Regions from separate parts of the Homo sapiens genome. Here region 1 is linked to region 2. The links are contacts of gene promoters, found by promoter capture Hi-C in blood cells and fetal thymus (Javierre and others, 2016). All regions are on one chromosome and are shown on one strand. The core of a region is centred on a gene start or on the middle of the fragment in contact, and the rest is flanking DNA. Distances in the headings are between cores, read along the strand shown. Region 1 has its middle 46 kb from the start of LINC01804. Region 2 holds the start of CYRIA (CYFIP related Rac1 interactor A).

Region 1 (3,762 bases), core at 891-3,390, 1.0 Mb after region 2:
AGGAGTTCGAGACCAGCCTGACCAATATGGTGAAACCCCTTCTCTACTAAAAATACAAATGTTAGCCCAGCGTGATGGCATGGGCCTGTAGTCCCAGCTACTCAGGAGGCTGAGGCAGGAGAATCGCTTGAACCTGGGAGGCGGAGGTTGCAGTGAGCCGAGATGGCACCACTGCACTCCAGCCTGGGTGACAGAGTGAGACTCTGTCTCAAAAAAAAAAAAAAAAAAAAAATTCAGAATGACTGAGTGAATGGCAGTTGAGTAGGGTCCAGATCAGAGTCTCAAATGCCATGTGTGAGCACGGGAGGGCCACTTGTCTCATGCTGTCTTATAAATACAGTCTGGTGACAACCACGTGAAGGCCAGAGCCCAGGATATGGAAATATGCAAAGGAGTTTCCAGTTGTGCTAGTCCCCTTGTCGACAACGCCTCATCGGCAGCCACTGTGACCCTGCTGAGCAGCACATGCAAAATGCACCTCAGAAAGGAGGTGAAGTGACGTTGCTGACAGTTCAAAGAGTGTCAAGCAATGGCCATTGTTCTTGAAAAGAAGGGCAAATTTCACTTTTCCTGTTTCTCTTGTGATGTTATGGAATTCAGACAAGCTTGTGGTTTTCAACCCCACACTCTGCACTACAGTTTCCAGCACAGATTGAGGATAGAGTCATTTATTCATTCAAAAATGATGTATCAAGTGTCTTTTTTTTTCTTTTTTGAGACAGGGTCTCACTCCGTCACCCAGGCTGAAGGGCAGTGGCATGATCACAGCTCACTTCAGCCTTGACTTCCCAGGCTCAGGTGATTCTCCCACCTCAGCCCTGCTGGGACTACAGGCGTGGGCAACCATGCTCCCACCCCCAGCTAATTTTTTGTAGAGATGGGTTTTCGCCACATTGCCCAGGCTGGTTGTCTACCTTCCTTGGCCTCCCAAAGGGCTAGGATTATAGGCATGAACCACTGCACCTGGCCCTCAAGTGTCTATATCACACCAGGAGTTGGCTGACCATGGCTGCCCTGGCAAATAACTCAGTTGAATCCAGGCAGGTCAGCCCCTACCACCAAGCCATGGGACTGCATGGGATCCAACAGTGTGATGCTGGGAGGTAGCAGTGGGTAGCAAGAGCATAAGCTTTGCAGTCAAAGAAACCAGGGATCCAGCCACCACTTGCCACTCAGCGCTGTGGATGCTGGTTATCTAACCTCTTTGAACCTTATCATCTTCATCTGTAAATGTCCACACCAATGCCTTCCATACCGACCAATATCTAGTAGCAGTGGATATGTGTTGTTTGGCCACCCAGTCTCCACACCCCTTTCCTCTGACCACAGCTCTCCAAATCCCTTTCAGGGACCATCTTCCAGCCTCATCTTTTTAGTTTCTAGTGGGGCTCCCAGCTCTACAGATGGAGTGAGCAGCTGGCCTAGGTCTGGCCAATCACGCACCAAATTCCCCCAGCCAGAGTGATTGGTCATGACTGGACAAATGATCCCATTCTTCAAACTGTCATAGTATATCCTGGGTCTTCTACGAGAGCAGCTCTCAGTTTTTGCTGGACTCAAAAGCTCTGAGCCTGAGACTTAGAATGAAGCCAACACAGAGAACAGAGGACTAGGGAATCCAGAAGGCAGAGAAACCAAGCTCCACTGTCACCATGTGACATCCTCGATTAAGGGCCATCGGAAGCCTGAGTCTGGGCTTCTCCATTATGTGAACAAATACATTTCCTTTTTTGCCTAAGACAGAGTTGAAGTTTCTGTCATTTGTAATCAGAAGGTCCCTAAATTGATGCAAATCAAAGTCTCTCATTTTCTCTTCATACCATCTTAGTGAAGCAGGAATTGCTCAGAGGGCCTTTCTGAGAATTTTTTTGTCATGGTGCATGCTAGCAAAGCGGATTACTTGACAAACACCTGCTTAATTATGCCAGCATTCCTATCTCTAGATACTAACATCTGCTCATCCTTCAAGGCTTATCATTGTCACCTCTACCTAGAAGCCTTCCCTGAACCCCCAGGCTGGGCCAGGAGCTCTGGGTCCTCTTTGCTCATTCCATCACTGCACTTGTGACTCTTACTTGTACCCTCTCTGCCATCTACTCCCATGCACTAGGGGGAAAGGGACCTGGTATTCACTTCTTCATTTATGTGTGCATGGCACCCAGTCCAGTGCTTTGCAAGCAGATTCCATGAAGAGTAACTGACTAATGAATGAATAAATTTGGTGAGAAAAATGCACATGCCTGGACATGAGATTCACATGACCCCATCATCACATATTTACATAATGTGTATGCTGCAGAGACATTTAGTTGCCTCCTCAACATCCAACTTTCCATTCTGGCTTAGACACAGAACTCCAATCTTCCCAGACTTAAAAAAAAAAAAAAAAAAAAAACCACCCTACATATTCTAGCCTCTCTTGAGGAGATGTGGCCCCAAGTTCTAGCTAATGAGCTGTATATAGAAGTTGTTGCATCAGACTTCTGGGAAGACTCTTTAAAAGGGAGACAACCAGAAAGGGAGCTCCTTTTTGGCTTTCTCTTTTTTTCTCTTTTCTGCTGTACTTAATGCAGATATGATGGCTTGTGCTCCAGCAGCAAGTGAGATCATGCGGCATCTCTGAGGATGGACGTCATGAGCTAAGCATGGAAAAGCGGAAAGCCAGAAGGAGCTGGGATATCTGATGATGAAGGGCTGACGTTACTAGCTCCTAGCTCCAGACTGCCTGCCTCTACACCTTCTTTTTTTTTTTGTTTATACCTTATCTGAAAACTCCCAAATACACTTTTTTATATCAAAAAGAAAATAAATCCTTTGTATTTGAGCCACCATATTTTGAGTGCATTGCTGTATGTAATTGAACCTAATCCTAACTGCTGTGTCACTAAATGCTATATTAATATTCACTGATAATATTTCTCTATTTTAATCATAAAATGAAATTTTTAAACCCAACATTTGGAACAGTGCATGCGTGCCAGATATTGTGGTGGCATACAGCGGGAGACACAGATACAGGGAAGGAGACATTTTACAACTGGTTAAAATACATGTACCAGTTCATCACTTTCTATGGGAAAAAATATTATTTTATTCATTTTATGATATGAAAATTAGAGATTGTTCATGTTAAAGTAGAATTCAAGCTTGTATTTCTTTATTTTTAATTCCAGCTCCACCCCCCATCATCATACTGCCTTAACAGCAGCGGGGAGGGCTGTGGGTGATCAGGGATTCCTCCCTGTCTTCCTGCCACAGAGCCTGAGTAGATCAAAAGGCCAAGAGCATGAGGAGACTTTGCTCCTTCAGAATCGCTCCTTGGCCCCCTGAAATGAATGACCAGCTTTAACAGACTTTTCCCCCCCAGCTCACATTCCCCATGGTTGGTGAGGCAGAAAATTCACAAGAACAAAGCTCTTGCCCTAGAAAGATCTTCTTTTCAATTTAGGGTCAATTCCACTTTGGGGACTTCCAGAAGAGTCACCTTTAAATTAAGAAAAGAGAAAAAGAAGCTGTTGCATATAAGCCAGGGAAAACCACACACGAATGTGAACAGCACCCGCGTTCCACCCAGCAGCACGGATTTTTTGTGGGAAACTTATACAGAGCCCCGTAAGCCTCCAAGGAGGTGAGAGTCGGGAGGCGGGGGACGGGCAGAAAGACGTTGGAGTCCAAGAAACTGGATTCATTTTTCTACCGGCTGTGAGTAGGGCAACTTCTAAGGGCCTCATCTTGTCCTTCTGGAAAATGGGCAAGCAGCCT
Region 2 (3,647 bases), core at 374-2,873:
TGTGTGTAGTAGACATGGTTTACCTCATGGCAAGAAGGCTTTTCTCATAGAGCCACTCACAGATAAAACACCTTTGCCAGACGGCTGCGGTGGTTCACGCTTGTAATCCCAGCACTTTGGGAGGCCAAAGTGGGTGGATCACGAGGTCAAGAGTTCAAGACTAGCCTGACCAAGATGGTGAAACCCCGTCTCTACTAAAAATACAAAAATTAGCCGGATGTGGTGGCAGGCGCCTGTAGTCCCAGCTACTCTGGAGGCTGAGGCAGGAGAATTGCTTGAACCCCGGGGGATGGAGGTTGCAGTGAGCCGAGATCACACCACTCCACTCCAGCCTGAGCTACAGAGTGAGACTCTGTCTCAAAAAACAAAAACAAAAAAAACACCTTTGCAGGAATTGACAACAGAGGCTGGTCTAGGGCATGGGGAAAACTCAAAAAGAGAACGGGAAAGTGTTTCTTCTGGTCCTAAGGACCCCTTCCAAGTGGGAAAATATTTCACTCTAACTAGACAGTGCCTTCCTGCCCTCTGTGAATTTTTGCCAAAAAACAGACCAAGAGCCTCTGTGGGCAGTTCAGGAGAGCCTTTCAGAGTGCAAAGGAAGCTTGGGCAACAAGTCCTCCCAGGGGAAACACCCTGGATCTCAGAAAGGAGAGGGGCCTGAACACCTTCTCCTGATGCTTCCCGCCTCCTCTGATCCCAGCCCACACAGGGCCCCAACCCATGCAGCTTCGGGCACGTACCTTGGCACACTATGGGGATTTAACACATGTTTCATGATGTTCTGGCTGATGGACTGGGAAAGGAAGCACCCGAAGCCGGGGTCCCCAGGAGCTCTCCCTCCCCTCAACAGGAGCTCTGACTCACAACCTGTTTGGCACTGCTGAGTCCTCTCCGGTTTCCTGAATCTCCCTCTCTCTAATGCAAAAAGCCTCCATGGCAGATGTTTTAGAACAATGATCACGTCAATGACGCTGTAACCCACTACTTTCTTTTTGCATCATAGAATTTTTTAAGTGTTTTTGCAGACTTACTCTTTAAGGTTAATTACATGTTTTGGATTGAGCCTTTGGGAAGACTTTACAGTGGTCCTATCGGATAACTGCGGGCCCCAAGGCTGGAGATCTGTTAATAGGGTGGGCAGAAAGGGACTGGGAGCGAGACTGGGTTCAGAATCTCAAGTAATTTGGAGTGTGCCTAGGGATTGGGATGATTTGGCTGGGCATTAATTTGAAGGTGAATATGCGTCTAGAGATTGCGGGGATTTCTTTTTCTTGGAGGGCAACCGTGGGTGTGGAGGAATTTGGTGTGCAGAAACAGAAAGGTCTGGTTCGGGCTTCCTCTGGGAAGGCAAGGCCAAGTGGCCAAGGCTGAGAAGGGGCAGGGGCGACCGTGCTGGGGCGGGTCCGCACCAGCTCCTGGGAGCAGAGAGCAGAGCCGGGCAAAGAGATGGGGTTGTCCAGGCTAGGGTGAGGACGCGGCCGGTGACAGCGCGGGTGGGGATCCCCCGGGGCCGGGGCGGGGCGGCTGCCGCGAGCCGGGCTGGGGGCGGGGCGGGGCGGGGAGGGACGGGGAGGGGCGGGGCGGGGCTCCGAGGCCGTCTCGCAGGCTGCGGCGGCCGCGGGAGAGGCGTACTCGGCGGCGGCGGAGCGGGCGGCAGAGCAGGGCGGCGGCGACTCGGTGAGCGCGGCGCGGCTGGGGGCGCGGCAGGGGCGCGGGCGGGGGTCTGCGGGCGCGGGGCTCGGCCTGCACGGGGCACCGCGGGGCACCGCGAGGCGGGGCGGGCGCCTCCCTGCCATCCTTCTCCTCCCGGACGCCCCTGCAGCCTTTGGGAGGGAGGGAGAGCGGAGGACACCGTCCGGGAGCCCTTCTCTAGCGATCGCCGGACAGAGGTCCGGCTTTGTGCCCCGTTGCCCTCTTTCTGAGAGGGCTGCCTCCTGATTGTGTTCCTTTCCCAGACCACCCTCCCTCGTCCCTCACTCACTTACCCCCCACCCCAGGTATCATAAGCTCCATTCTTGCAGGGGACCCCTAACACTCCCCTTCCCACCACCCGAGGCCCCGGGGTCCTGGGTACTCTCTACAGCCCCAAAGGGAGGGATGGCCCCCTCCCCAGCCCCTGCACACCTGGACCCTTCTGTTGCCACCTGCCACAGACGTTCTTAGCCAGCCAGAAAGCTGCTGTGCCTAGGACCCAGCACACCTTGCCGTCACCCTCTCTCCTCCCCCAGAACCCAGAACCCCAGTTTGGCAAAAGGCACTTTTCCAATACTGAGCTTTGGGAACAATTTGACCCACTTCCCAAAATGCTGGTCCCAGGCCAGCCATGCTTTTTGGTGGAGACACCTGTCTTGTCTGCCAGGAGACATTCTCTGTCAAAATGGGCCAGCCCGTCCCTGGGTCCTCCTCCAAGCTGCTCCTACTCGCTAGCCAGTGTCCCCAGAGACCAGGGCCAAGATCTTTGTCATTTAAGGCCTCCAAAGCTATTTCCCCACGCATCCCCAGAATTCCCCCAGCCACTGTTTTGGGGGTGCCAGGTCCAGAACTGATGGAGCAATCTTTCTGTGTCCAGGGCCTGATGTCCTCTCCCACACCCTTGTTTACCCGCCTGCTCCCCAGGGAACCCAAGACAGGGTCATGGGGCTGGAGTTTAGGGCCCTGATCTCCCCTGAAGCTCTGTGACCCTCCTTTTCTCCCTGTTAGAAACTTTCCTCTCTGTCACCAGTCACTATCTCCTCTGGATGGGACCTGGGCCATCTGCACAGTGTCGAGTCCCCAGGGCACAGAATGCTGATCTGGGACCCTGGAAGGCTGGGACTTGTGCTGGGGCAGCAGGAGGAGAGTGGCTGCTAGCCAGGTCTGGGCTTGGGTACCAGAGTTCTTTGGGTGGATCATTGTCGGCTTTCACTGATCTCTGGTTGGGGTTCGAGGGCTTGCTTTGCAGTGGAGACAGGAGGCAGAGCAGGGGCTGTTTTTCCTGCGTGCTTCTGACTGTCTTGTGTTGCTATGGTGACAGTTTTGCCTGTCTTCCTCCTTCTGACTCTTCTGGGAGCTGGTTTTTATTGGTCCGTTGTCCTGTCTTTCATGGCTCTAATTTCTCCTTTCTACTTGCTCTGAAATAAACAGTCATAAACATGGGCGCTGGGCCCAGGCTGGGGGCTGGCAGAACTTCACCTCCTGCTGGCCCTGGGTTCCTGTGAGGGGAGAGTGGGAAAGCGAGGTGGAAACAGACCTGCCCACATTCCCTCCTGCCTCTGGGCTCTGGCTCTGGGAAGGGGGCAGCAGCAGCATCACGGGCTTGGGCACATAGTGGGCGCATACTGCCTCAGTGCTAAAAATAGATACCAAATGTGGCAAAGGACCTCACTGGTGTTATTTCCTTTCATCTTCACAATAGCCCCATGGGGCAGGGGCTCTTTCCACTTTGCAGATGAGGAAACTAAGCTCAGAGCAAGTGAGTTATTTCCCTAAGGTCACATTGATTTGAGCACACAGTCAGCCCTCAGTTTTGGTTCAATGAATGGAAAAGTGATGAAGCTGACATACACGCATCTCTGTTGGGCTCCCTGGTCCTGTCCGAGGGATCACAGGGACTTCCTTAGTCCAGCTGCCTAAACCCACACTATAGGAGGCTCTTTAGAAGGTGTCTC

Evidence for each region. The method cuts DNA at HindIII sites, captures the fragments that hold promoters and counts their contacts. A CHiCAGO score of 5 or more calls a contact.
Region 1: a contact is called between a fragment that was not itself captured here and the fragment with the promoter of CYRIA in region 2, in 1 of 17 cell types (endothelial precursors). The highest score is 6.2, in endothelial precursors.

What each region holds. Positions count from the first base shown.
Region 1 is chr2:15,642,863-15,646,624 of GRCh38, reverse strand. No RefSeq gene overlaps it. Among named protein-coding and RNA genes, the nearest start is that of LINC01804, 46 kb to the left of the region's middle. The HindIII fragment of the contact is 2,017 bases long and covers 1,132-3,148 here.
Region 2 is chr2:16,663,810-16,667,456 of GRCh38, reverse strand. CYRIA (CYFIP related Rac1 interactor A) reads left to right here and starts at 1,623. Exons shown (of 12, transcript NM_030797.4): 1 at 1,623-1,677. RefSeq lists silencers at 1,417-1,586, 1,657-1,706. The HindIII fragment of the contact is 7,241 bases long and covers 604-3,647 here.